Regions from separate parts of the Homo sapiens genome. Here all the other regions are linked to region 4. Evidence: promoter capture Hi-C in 16 types of primary human blood cells and fetal thymus (Javierre and others, 2016). All regions are on one chromosome and are shown on one strand. Each heading gives the region's core, a stretch centred on a gene start or on the middle of the fragment in contact. The rest is flanking DNA. Distances are from core to core; before and after follow the strand shown. Region 1 overlaps CCDC90B-AS1 (CCDC90B antisense RNA 1). Region 2 overlaps CCDC90B (coiled-coil domain containing 90B). Region 3 holds the start of PRCP (prolylcarboxypeptidase). Region 4 holds the start of HIKESHI (heat shock protein nuclear import factor hikeshi).

The links. Contacts are between HindIII fragments. The CHiCAGO score rates a contact against its expected background, and 5 or more counts as called.
Region 1: a fragment that was not itself captured here is called in contact with the fragment with the promoter of HIKESHI in region 4 in 1 of 17 cell types (non-activated CD4 T cells); the score reaches 6.0 in non-activated CD4 T cells.
Region 2: a contact is called between a fragment that was not itself captured here and the fragment with the promoter of HIKESHI in region 4, in 1 of 17 cell types (non-activated CD4 T cells). The highest score is 8.1, in non-activated CD4 T cells.
Region 3: the fragment with the promoter of PRCP here is called in contact with the fragment with the promoter of HIKESHI in region 4 in 2 of 17 cell types (non-activated CD4 T cells and naive CD8 T cells); the score reaches 5.6 in non-activated CD4 T cells.

Annotation. Positions count from the first base shown.
Region 1 is chr11:83,293,177-83,296,345 of GRCh38, forward strand. All of the region lies in intron 1 of CCDC90B-AS1 (CCDC90B antisense RNA 1), which reads left to right. Among named protein-coding and RNA genes, the nearest start is that of CCDC90B, 8.4 kb to the left of the region's middle. The HindIII fragment of the contact is 3,605 bases long and covers 55-3,169 here.
Region 2 is chr11:83,276,739-83,279,933 of GRCh38, forward strand. It overlaps CCDC90B (coiled-coil domain containing 90B), which reads right to left. Exons shown (of 9, transcript NM_021825.5): 3 at 1,988-2,091. Among named protein-coding and RNA genes, the nearest start is that of CCDC90B-AS1, 7.8 kb to the right of the region's middle. The HindIII fragment of the contact is 6,725 bases long and covers 1-3,195 here.
Region 3 is chr11:82,898,275-82,901,679 of GRCh38, forward strand. PRCP (prolylcarboxypeptidase) reads right to left here and starts at 2,156. Exons shown (of 9, transcript NM_005040.4): 1 at 1,961-2,156. The coding sequence starts at 2,128. It overlaps LOC124902602, which reads right to left. Exons shown (of 2, transcript XM_047427953.1): 2 at 2,640-3,405. The coding sequence ends at 2,750. RefSeq lists enhancers at 1,882-1,931, 2,052-2,111, 2,262-2,361, 2,642-2,691 and silencers at 2,902-2,951, 3,002-3,091. The HindIII fragment of the contact is 4,585 bases long and covers 1,141-3,405 here.
Region 4 is chr11:86,300,667-86,303,813 of GRCh38, forward strand. It overlaps HIKESHI (heat shock protein nuclear import factor hikeshi), which reads left to right and starts at 1,574. Exons shown (of 5, transcript NM_016401.4): 1 at 1,574-1,812. The coding sequence starts at 1,783. The HindIII fragment of the contact is 4,753 bases long and covers 1-2,335 here.

The sequences.
Region 1 (3,169 bases), core at 607-3,106, 3.0 Mb before region 4:
TTTGCTTCTTTGCTCTCATCTCTGAAGCTGAGTCAGAGGGCCCATTGTCACAAAAGCTTTGTGTAGCTTTATGTTAATTTCACATTTTGCATGGCTGGAAAGTGACTATCAGCCCGTATTCCCTGAAAATCTGGGGAAATTTTTTTTTTCCTAATTATACAGGGAGGCTGGCAATGACACCCGATTCCGAGTTTGCCCATTAAAATAAATCAAAGAAAAGAATGATTAAAAGAATGGTAGAAAAGAAGAAGAAAGAGCTGTCAAAACATTATATACTTTGCAATGTTACATCATAACCTGGTGTCTCTCATCGATTACTCATTTTTTCTTTGAATGACTATTGAACACTATTTATGGTGCCAGGCACTGTGCTAAGCCATGAAGATATAAACATAAAACACAGTCCTGCTCTCAGATTGTCAACAGTCTATTGTAATAAATATTATGATGAAGGGTAGTATAGGCTGCCAAGGGAATGCATAAGAGAGGCTTATATTACCCTAAGCAGGGATCCGTCGGAAGGCATTAGTTTGAAAGGATGTGTGAAAGACAGTTTGGTTAAATGGATTTGGTGAATGGTGGTGTGGAGTACGTTGTGTGGAAAAGGCAACAGCACTTGCAAAAGCCGGGAAGTGTGTGTGAGAGAGCCTGGTTCATTTGGGAATGGAGAGAATGGCTGGAGCAATGGGTTAAGGGTAGGGAAATTCAGAAGGTGAGGTTGGAAAAGGTGAGGCTGGCCTTCAAGGTCTTTTTTACTTTATCCATGAGTAAGAGGAATCACTGAAGGGCATTAGGCTAGGGAGTAGCTTTGAAAAGAAAGGTGGCCAGGCATGGTGGTTCACCCTGTCATCTCAGCAGTTTGGGAGGCCAAGGTGAGAGGATCAGTGGAGCCCAGGAATTTGAGACCAGCCTGGGCAACATAGCGAGCTCCTGTCTCTATAAAAATTAAAAAAAATTAGCCGGGCAATGGGACACATGCCTGTAGTCCCAGTTACACAGGGGGCTGAGGTGGGAAGATCTCTTGAGCCCAGGAGGTCAAGGCTACAGTGAGCCCTGATTGCACCACTGCACTCCAGCCTGGGCAACAGAGACCCTGTCTCAAAAACGAAAACGAAAAAATGAAAAGAAAAGGAAAAAAACCAAAAGGGTGTTTGCCTGCCCTTTGCTGAGTCCTTCAGCGGTCAAGGCTGTGTATTTCACCTAGATTCCCTGTCCTAGGTACTGATCTGGAAAACCCTAGACATCTGCCCCTTTCCTGGTCAGAGAAGACCCCTGGCCTGGCAGAGCCTACAGCTCCAGCCTCAAGGTACCTGATTGGAGAAGTCCTCCTCATTGTATGACTTGGCTGCCTTGGACCTCACTGGGAAAGACTAGGGAAATAGGATTTTGGGGTCTTGACTTTGGAATTCATTTTCCGCACTGGGGTATAGCAGAGCTGAAAAATCTCACTAAACTCTCAGCATGGTCTGTATCCTTCCTGTCTCCAACAACAAGGTGGGGCATTCTTCCTCAAAAATTCTTCACATGTAGGTGTTGCCTCATCTCTTATCTCACACACATGAGCTCATTTGAGCTCTTTGGCAACTCCGTGAGCTGGGTACCATTGCTCCTGTTTCATAGATGGGAAAACAGGTTCAGAAGGCTGAAGTGACTTGTCCCAGGTCACAGAGCAAGTACGTGGTAGAACTCATAATCGATTGTGCTGCACACTGCATAGATAAGTCACCCCTGTTCCTTCCACCAATTTATTTTAACTGGGTACATGGCACAAATTGTGAAATTATGTGTACTCTTAGGGACACATCATCCCTCATCCTCCAAGAAACTGTTAGTACAGAAGTGACAAATGGGTTTCATCTTCATGCCAATACCCTTCAATTGACCGTGGCTGCTTAGAACAAAGTGATGAGTGTTGTGAGGCCATATCTTGGTGCAGCAGTAAAGAATACATGATTGATTGGTAGTATCTGATATGAATGCAGGAGAGAAAGGGGGCAGCACATATGCCATTTCTAGATTATATATTCCCCTTAGGCTGCCATAATCCTGCACTGGCCATGACATTTCCACTGACTCCCACCTTCATCCCAACACCCATTTTGCTCATTTTCTCTTATTCCTTCCCTTCCTTGCTGAAATTGTTCCCACCCATTTAACAATAGCTTCAACTTACTGAGGGTTTAGTGGGTACCAGGCACTTTGCGTATATTATTTCTAATTCTCCAACAATCATGTAAGGTAGGTAGAGACAAAAACAAGACTTAGAGGGGTTAAGTAGCTTGTTCAGGGACATACAACAAGCTGGAATTTCAACCCTGAAGCACATGGAAAACTTTGCATTTTTATAATGGGTAATGAAAACCTTCATATTCACTGTTTGCTTTGAGCCTCACAACAGCCTCGGGAGGTAGTTTTCTGGGTTTGCAACTGAGGGAGCTTGAGGCTCAGGGGAGAGGCGCTGATTATTTAGTGACATAGTCACAGCTCCTGACTCCTACCTCAGGCCTTTTCCTGCTACTACCTTAGGCTCTGGGGAAGAGCCCTTGACTCCACAAAGCTATCTCTTAAGAACTGATCTATACTACTGTGGGGAGAATTTGGGGGCCCTTCATTGATTTTACTCCTGCCAGCCTTACCCTGTTTTCAGCTCTTATCATCAAGAAGGTCTTTCTTTTATTGTTAGCTCTTTGTGTAATTTAGGTCATTTCTTTAAAAAAATTTGTTGAGAAATTCACGTCACATAAAATTAACCATTTAAACGTGAACAACTCAGTAGCATTTAGTACACTTACAATGTTGTGCAACTACCACCTCTATCTAGTTCCAAAATATTTCCATCACTCCAAAGTAAAATTCCTGACCTATTTAGCAGGTTTTTCCCCTTCCCCACTCCTCTCAGCCCCTGACTAACACCGATCTGTGTTCTGTCTCTATGGATTCATCTATTCTGGATGTATCACGTAAATTGAATCATACATGTGACCTTTTGTATATGGCTTTTTTCATTTAGCAAAATATCTTGGAAGTTCATTGTGTTGCAGCATGCATCAGTACTTCATTCCTTTTCATGGCCAGTATTCTATTGCACACAATCAGTACCATGATTTGTTTATCCATCCATTCGCTGATAGACATTTGGGGTCTTTTTACTTTATGGCTATTATGAATA
Region 2 (3,195 bases), core at 671-3,170, 3.0 Mb before region 4:
TAACAACTTTAAATGTACACATAATCCATTGTTAAGTAGCTAAATCTATTAAAAGTGTGATTTTTTTAAACTACTATGGAGCCATCAGAGAATATTCAGATTTTAATCAAAATCACAATATAATCAAATTTTCAGAATAAGACTTTATTATTTTATTTTTTCCCCCTCATCCTGCTAGCTGACTTGTTTTCATATGGCCCTTTCTGAAGTGATCAAGTATGCAGCTTAATGGCCTATGACCCTGAGCCTTAGCTTCACCCTTCATGACATCTCTGTGCCTTATTCTATACTAGAGGTGGGGTCAGCAATTGAATTAGGTTCAAGAACAGAACAGGATTATTTAACTTCAGACAGCAGTAATAAAAAAGCCAAAAGTTTAATAGTGATATTTCTATACTCAATCCTACCTCTTGTATATAGGATTAAATGGTCCTGGCAGCACAAATATTCCTCAAATCACAGCTTTATTTCACTCCCTATATTATAGGTAAACTTAAAAATTTAAGACAAAATTACTTTATTAAAAGTATCAGTAGCTCCATATAGCTCTTTCAGGACAGCTCGGAGCTTAGGAGTAACTAATTAGATGTTTGGCTTTTTCTTTAGTGGATTTAGTAGTCTGTTATGATCCTAAAAATGCATGTACAAACTTAAAGGTAAGTTAAATGTAGGGATTGAATGTTTCAATTTTAAATGTCTAATTAATTGGACATTTGTCTACTATAATTGGAGATTACAGTTTTAATTTTTGTTTTTTTCTTTTTTTGAGATGGAGTCTCTGTCACCCAGGCTGGAGCGCAGTGGTGCAATGTTGGCTCATTGCAACCTCCACCTCCCCAGTTCAAGCGATTCTCCTGCCTCAGCCTCCCGAGGAGCTGGGATTACAGGTGCCCACCACCATGCCCGGCTAATTTTTGTTTTTTTTTTTGTTTTTTCAAGTAGAGACAGTGTTTCACCTTATTGGCCAGGCTAGTCTTGAACTCCTGACCTCAAGTGATCTGTGTACCTCAGCCTCCCAAAGTAATGGGATTACAGGTGTGACCCACGGCACCTGGCCATAGTAGAAATCTGTAAGATCTTTTGATCTACCATGACCCTTTAATGAAATTTTATGCAAAATATTCTAATTTTATATAAGAAATCCTGATTTTTCTCTGTGCTGTAAAATACTTATCTGAGGAAGGAAGCCTAAATTTGAAAAATTAAAATGAAAAAAATATAACCATAGGAAGAAAACAGATTCCTAAACATAATACATTATTTCATGACTGACAGAAATGAATTATTATTCCAGTTAAGTTCATTTAGTTTATTCAGTCCTTTATATAAAATTATTGCTTTTTGTCCATACCACCACAGTGAAAACTCTTGCAAACTACTCAATTTCTCTGAGCCTGTCTTCAGTGGCCAAATAGAATTCTGCTTACTTTTCAAGGTTATTAGAGATTAAATAATATACGAAAAGTACATAGCATTGTGCCACTTACATGTTAAATTCTTATGTTTGACTTTAAGGATTTTTATATTCAGTTAAATTAAGGCGTCTTAGCCAGGGAATTTATAAAGTCCCTCCCAGCCAACTAAGTCCTTTCCAGCTATGTCTGTGAAAATTAACCAATGTGTATGTATAGCAGCAATAAAATATACTGAATATATAGAAAGATTAGCTCTTCTGTGGTGAGCTTTCTAGAGGGAAAAAGTTGTTTCACAAACAATCTACCACCACTCATGAATAACACAATATAATGATCTCATCCCATCAAAGATTTGGCAAAATACCATTCTCTGTTACCACAATATTATTACAACTATTCTAACTATTCAGTCTCTCTAAATACTGACTTTATTCAATGTTTTTTTTTGTGGTCCCTTTAGAGAGAACAAGGAAGATATAAGCATGTTTGGAAGGTCAGTAGGTAGACAGAGACATAGTTATGAAATGATTGTCTAATGAAAGTATCAGAAGTGATAGTAATCAGTGTATTACCTGTTGAGCTTGAGTGACCATCTCTTTATAGATAGTATCCAGGCTGACATTTGATAAAGCAGTTAACGCTGATACAATTGTTTCTGCTTGTGTTTTGTCAAATCCTGTAGGCAGCAAATAGGTATTTTATTTTTTTTAAAGTGTATATCCTTATCAAAATAGACAGCAAGAGTAACTCCTCAACATTTAAATTGTTATACTCTTTTAAATAATGGTTACAATTAAAAAATTGACAGATAATACTAAATTACTCTCTAAAAGAACTCTACAACTTTAGGCCGGGCATGGTGGCTCACGCCTGTAATCCCAGCACTTTGGGAGGCCGAGGTGGGCAGATCACAAGGTCAGGAGATTGAGACCATGCTGGCTAACACGGTGAAACCCCATCTGTACTAAATATACAAAAATAGCCAGGCGTGGTGGCGGGCGCCCGTAGTCCCAGCTACTCGGGAGGCTGAGGCAGGAGAATGGTGTGAACCTGGGAGGCAGAGCTTGCAGTAAGCCGAGATCGCGCCACTTTACTCCAGCCTGGGCAACAGAGCGAGACTCTGTCTCAAAAAAAACAAAAAAAAAACAAACAAAAAAACAAACTCTAAAATTTTAATTCTCATTCTGTATCTCCCCACATCTACATTAACACTGGATATGACTTTTTTTTTGAGTGTGTAATTGGCATAAAAAATTGTATTGCATTGTTATTTTAATGTTACTTAAATTTGCATTTCCTTGGTTTGTAGAGAGGTTAAGCATTACATATACTTTTTGTTATTTATATTTATTTTTCTGTGTTCTGCTTGTTTATAGCATTTGCCCACCTTTTTCTGTAAAACTGCTTGTTCTTCTTTTACATTTAGCTTTTCATCTATCTGAAATTTAGTTTTCAATAAGGGGATCTAATATATTTTTTCCCAGTGGCTAGTCACTTATTATGTCTCATTTATTAAATAGTCCTTCCTTTCCCTAATTTGTAATGCCTTCATCACATATTAAATTCATGTCTGTGTCTCTTAATACCATTTTGTTCTATTAGTCTATTCCTTTAATATCACATAATTTAAATTACTGTTTTGATATCAGGTAATTTTTTGTGCTTTTTTTTTATTTTTTAATCTCAAACATTTGTACTTCCACACGGACTTTAGTTTAACCTAGAAACTCTAGTTTTTTTTCACTTAATTGGAATAATTCTGCACATATTATTTCATATG
Region 3 (3,405 bases), core at 906-3,405, 3.4 Mb before region 4:
ACTTTGCATATCATCAAAAATGGAAAAAGAAACAGTGTTGAATTATATTTCTAAGGAGTGTAGTGGCCAAGAAAAGAATCTACAATAAAGGAACATAAATTAGGAACTAAGGTACTAACAACTCATTTGTTCCCTTCCTCTTTTCTGCTGATAGTTCTCTTTTTCATCAATCCCAATGGGATTTTAGAGATCTCCCAATCCAATAGTCCTCCCCACCGTTTTACTTTAGCAGTTGAGTTCTGCAAATAGTTGTATATAAAATCCCAGCATATAAAACAGGTAAAAGCTGAAAGAGATCCAAGAGAGGGTACTAGAGCACCTAATTTGGCCTCCACTTCAGCCTTCATCCACTTTCCCTCTGAAACAGCTCCCCAAAGAGCCCTTAATTTTCCTCAGTAAAGTGTAAAACACATTGGTCCTTGTCCCAACCCTCCTAATTTACAAATGAGGGAATTATGCCCTAGAGAATTAATTTAAGGGAGTTGCCTGAGAAAAAAGATTATTTCCTAGTACCCCTGCTAAAATTAAAATGTTTTCTCTTCCTCATAAACTTGAACTCAAATGTCTGGGTTAAAAATTGTTTCTTGGCTGGGGACACAGTGGCACACGCCTGCAATCCCAGCCCTTTGGGAGGCCAAGACAGGGGCATCGCTTGAGCCCAGGAGTTCAAGACCAGCCTAGGCAAGATGACAAAATCCCATCTCTATTTTTAAAAATAAAAAAATTTTTAAATTATTTCTAAGTTATTCTGGAAGTCTATGACATCCCTCTACCACAAATTCCCATTCCAAATTCACATAAGGGCTGGGCTCAGTGGCTCACACCTGTAATCCCAACACTTTGGGAGGCTGATGCAGAAGGATTATTGAGCCCACAAGTTCAAGACTAGCCTGGGCAACATAGTGAGCCTTGTCTCTGCACAATTAACAACAACAAAATTTCACATAGGTCTATAACCACATATTATATGAGTGCCTACTTGAAGCCAGATACTCTGCTAAGAGTACGTTATCTGCTCTCATTCAACCATCACCACAAACCCCAAGAGATCAAGGAACTAGGCTCACAGAAGTACTGTAACCTGCCCAAGGTCACAGAGCTAGCAGGGTGGAATCCGGTTCTATCTGACTCCTAAAGCCAAGCTTCAGACCCTTGCACTCTTTCTAATCCCAACCTTTTCCAAATCTTTTCCTATTTTTACACAGGCTTTCAGAAATGCTGAACTGTAAGGATTACTTGTCATTTCACAGAGGATGTACTTTTCCATCAAGACCTGTGGGGGAATGCCTCATGCTGCAGCCAAGCACAAAGGCATCAAGCCCAAAAACCTCTAATTTCACGTTACAGACCATAGAAAGGCTAATCCCCACCCCCACCACAAACTCCTACAACTCCTTTTACAAGCATAGGCTACATACATTCAGTCTTATGGGGAATAGGGACTGTCAACAATTCTTAATAATAGGGCTACAAAATCAGCTCTGAGCTGACCCCTTCTGAGAGGCTGGCTTTTAGGATGGATAACTATCCAATATTTTCTAATAGGTAAAGATATTAAAATTTGTATTTAGGGCTGCCTTGGGGCAAAGGATGACTATCACCGCAGACTAGGTACCAGAGCTGGCATTTAATAATTTGAATTTGAGGGAAGGTCAAGGGAGTTCGGATTGGGGCACCCTCTGGGAGCAGAGGGAGTTGAAGTGACTGTCGTGTCCAATTACAGAAAAGCCTGAATCAAGAGTATGCAGCCAAAACTACTACCAAATTATTGGTAATGGGAGGAGAAAATTTAAACAGAACTGGGATTTGGGACCACCTTCTGGAAGATGTTAGCCAAAAACCGAACAGATCCTAGGCATCAAGGGGTGTGAATTTCGAGGTAGGCTCCGTTGCCCGGGCTCTGAGGGTCAGGGTTCCCGGCGGTTGGGCCTGGGACGGCGAAGCCCCCGCTCCCCCTTACCTTCTGTTGGAAGTAGAGAACCGAATAGTTCTTGGCTACAGCCGGGAGGGATGTGGGGTTGGTTGGCAAGTGTAGGCTGCCGAGGGCCCTTAAGGCCGGCCGGAGGGCTATGGTGGCCCAGGGCGCCAGAAAAGACAGAAGCAGGAGCAGGAGGGCTCGGCGGCCCATGGCTCAGGCTGGAGACTGCAGTGCGGGTGGGAGGGCGAAAAGGAGGCCAGCAGAAGCGCACAGGCTAAGCCCTGCCCAGCCTGCAGCTCCGCCCGCCGCAAAACAGCTCCTCCCAGGGGAAACCCAAAGCCAGCCAGCTCCTCAGAGACGCCGCCCAAGCCAGGTCACCACAGCCACTCCGCCCCCATCCCCGAGGACACCGCCTCCACTCCACTTTCCTCTCGTGCCATCTGCTCCTTAGCACTCACCTTCATTGCGGTCACACCCCAAGTCTGCCCTTATCATGCTAGGGCCTCTTCCTAACTCATCGCTGTAGCCCATGCTTTATCTATAGCGCCCCCGAAGCCCACCTGTCCTTCAGGTCACCCAATATCCCTACCATTATCATCACCACCAAACCCTGCCCTGGCCACCGCAATTCCATTGCGACACCTCCTGCCTTCCGCAAATCCTACGTAACGGCAATAACAGCTACCATGACAATTTATTGAAGGTTCACTACAGGCCAGTGTATCACGAGGCAGGGAGGCACACGCATCATCTCCTCTAACTAAATCGTCACAGCAATCTTGTGCGTCGTATATGATTGTTATTCCCATCTACAGATGTGGAAACTGAGGCTCAGAGAGGTGCGGGAACTTGCACTAGATCACTCAGCAGTGAGCGGAGCACGTCGTCGCAGACCGCTGGGTCCAGGTCCAAAGACTGTGCTCCTTGCACCCACCTCCATCTGGAGCCTAACCACTCCCTATGATACTCCGTTCTTGGGTCACCCCAAAACTGTGTTGCTCGCACAACCCATCCATTACACAGGTCGCCCCGGGTCCACATCGCCCCTAAATCCCGCCAGGTCCCGGTCCCTTCTTTCAAATAACGCCCCCTTTCTTCTCCGGCACCCGAAAACCCACTCCGCGCTCCACCCCCCTCCTGCCTCCTGCCACCGCCCCCTTCCTCCCTCCGCCCGTGGGTAGTGCTAGCCCCTAGGACAGCGCCGGGTCTGGCTTCCAAAGCTCCCTCAACCCTCTTCATCCAGCTTCCATTCCCTCTTTCAGTCACCCCGCCAGACCCCAGGGCGCTGCGGCTCACTCCACACTTTCCCGGGAACCCTACGCCCAGGAGGCTCAGCGAAGCTCCAAAACCAATTTTACGGACTGTACTACTGATCCACCTGTCGGGGAGAAAGACTCTACCCGCAGTTTGACGAAAATGGTCGTTTCCAGATGCTTGTAGGATTTCCTCGCTAAGCTCCACCCTCTGCGGCGCCTTCTTCTGATTGG
Region 4 (3,147 bases), core at 324-2,823:
TATCAGGTGGGTCATAGAAAGGTTAGTGAAGAAAAGTGAGAGGATGTGTAAGAAATAACCAAGTGAATATTACAGGGAGATAAAACAAGTTGCATAAGCACATACAAATTTAAAAGTAGGAGTTGCTCAGAGAATTCAAAAGTATGGCTAGTGCACAAGGTGGGTATGAAGAAGACATGGAAAATTAGTTAGGAAAGGCAATAATGCTAAATATTAACATTTATTGAGTAAGCTACATTCTGGCCACTATTGAGTACTTTACGTGTAAGAACCCTCAAAACAACTTTATGAGGTAGATACTACTATTACTTCATTTTAAAGATGGGGAAAAGGAGGTATGGGAGTGTTAGGTTAACTTGCCTGAGATTATGTAACTAATAAATGGCAGAGATGGGCTCTGAACCCAGGTAGTGTGGGTGCCTTAATTTATGAAGTGGTCTTCATATGAATGGCCTTTTTATTCTGAAGGTTCTAGGACTTTTTAGATAGTAAGTTGGAAACATTGGTAGATCCTTTCCTACCTCTTCACCTTTGGCACAGCTATCTCAAAGGAGTATCGGTGATAAGATAGGTGATCAGTTTAGGGATCCACAGTGGAGGCCAGAGGACTGTTCCAAACACTGATCCCCCATATATAAACTGAGAACTGGGAAGACAGACCTGCTTTACGGCTGGTGGCCAAGCTCAGATATTTCAAATTGGACAGAGACCCTTTACTATCCTATTCAAGAAGAAAAGGAATTGGAGCTGTGAAAGGGAGAATAAGTATTGGTGGCAATCGGTACTTAATGCCAGTATTTTTTTTTTTTTTTTTGGCTATTGTTTTGTATTTCCTATGAAACTTTTCTGCAGATCCACATAGAAAAAAAATAGACATTTTTACAATAAAACTCCCACTAATTAAGCACAGCCAAGCACTGTTTTAAGTGTTTTATACATATTAGCTCATTTAATCCTCACAGCAACCCTAGGCAATAGGCTCATTATTTGTCTTTTGCAAAGGAGGGGCACTGAAGCACAAAGACATCTACAACTCGTCCACAATTGTACAGCAAATGAATGGGAGAACTAAGTGAAGCTGGAAAGAACTACTATAAATTGTAGACAAGTACAAAACAATTGGTTAAAGATTAATACTTCTGAGACACTGTGTAGCAGAAAGAAACCCGGATTTGGATTAGGACTTGAATTCAGCCTCCAACATTTACTGCTGTGTAAAGATTTGAGGCTGATCACTCCTATAAAATTTGGATTATAATACTTACCTCATAGGGTTTTTGTAAAGATCTAGTGACGTGATTATTGTAAAAGTGCACCGTTAATCTCTCAGATGTCACAGAAACGTTAGAAGCATCTCTTCCCAGGATTGTACATGGAAATGAAGGATCCACAGATTTTGTGGCTATAAAACACCCGGACTACCGATCCCAGTGTGCAAAGCCTCCAGGCTTACCTTCCCGGAAACTGGCGCGGTGCCCTCTGGGACTTGTTCTGGGACTTGTAGTCTTGTACTGGCGCTGGCCCGCCTTTCTTCCTTAGTGGGGAAAACCGGGTGTAAGCCCCGGAAGTACTTGTTGCCTGAGCAGTGGGCTGCTTAGGAAGAGAAGGTCAGAGTTCGCGGGGGCAGAGGCATTCTTGCCGCTGGCCCAGTCACTATGTAGTGGAGGGGCAGACACCCTCCCGCAAATTCTGGAAGGTTCTTAGTCTCGACTAGGGCAGTAGCCCCAGGACTCCTAGTCGCCGGCTTCAGGTCACTGCCGGCTGAACGGAGCTGCCGTCGCCATGTTTGGCTGCTTGGTGGCGGGGAGGCTGGTGAGGATGGGACCGGGTGATATCAGGAAGGGGTCAGGATACCGAGGGCGAAGCCCTACGGCAGGGAGGGTGCGCAGGCGCTAGGGATGCGGGGAAGCCCACTTATTATATTTTGGGTGGGTATGTGAGGATGGAGCGTGGGAAGCTGGGTGCTCTCCTTTGCCCAGCTCTATTCAGATTCTTTCGAATAGTAGTCACAGTATAAGTTGGCATTTATTAAGTGTGCATTTTGTACCAAGTACTGGGCTAAGTGCAATGCACGCCTTTGGTCACTCAGCCTTATGTGTGGCGCTTATTTGGCACTTTGAACTTAATCCTCATAACTCGTGAGATGGTCTTTATCTTTGACATTTTGCAGTTACAGAACTAAGTTCAATCGCCAGTATAAATACCTTCTTTATTAACTTGAGGTAGAGGTGAATTTGGGATTGAATTTGGTCTATAGCAAACTGTTTTTCAAAGATTAAGGTGCTCAGGGAATGTATATCTTTTGGGTCCCTTTGGAAGAACCCGAGTAAAAATAAGCTTAATTTAATTGGAAGTTGGCTGAAACTTAACGTGTGAGCCGTATCTGAGATAACCAGAGAAGGATGCGAGTAGTGTGTTTCCTTATGGGTCAAAATAGATAACTTACCTTGCCAAATTGTTAGAGTAAATGAGAACAGCACCTGGAATTCTTTAGGAATAATCTGGAAGGTGAATCTTGTTTGTTTCCTTAGAAACCACACAGACATCAATTTTCAGGCCTGATTCCTTTCCCCTAGAAGTATTTTTCCTTCTTTTTTCTCCTGGCTTTTTAAAATGTTGCAGTCCCTTTGCTGAATTGTCTTTTTTTCCCATCAAGTTTTGATAATGTATTGTATTCTGTACATATACAGTTCTAAGAAGCCAGAAAGATAAGTTGGAGATGACTAGCCTCATAAAGTTTGTCTCTTGAATGACTGGGAGACCCCTGTGGTGATGGTGGTAATTCATAATCCTGGTGAGATAATTTTGCCCTGCTCTTAATAGGGAAAAAGGACAAACCTGGAATGATTGTGTGACTCAGACGAGTGAGTGTTATTAATGAATGACATTAAAATTGTGTTTCTTAAAGAATAAAAAGCCTATTTGGAATCCATGTATCTCTCACGTTGTCAACTAATTTGGAAGGAAATTTAGTTATGGTAATACCTGCCTCTATATATTGGGGATACTTGGTCCTTTAATTATGGAGTATTAGGACACATCAAAGTGAAGGACAAATAGACCTAGTGGCATCTCAAAACTTAACTACACGACTCTGTTATAAGAAAAATCTACTTATCTAAACTTATGAACCCAGTTTTTATTTCT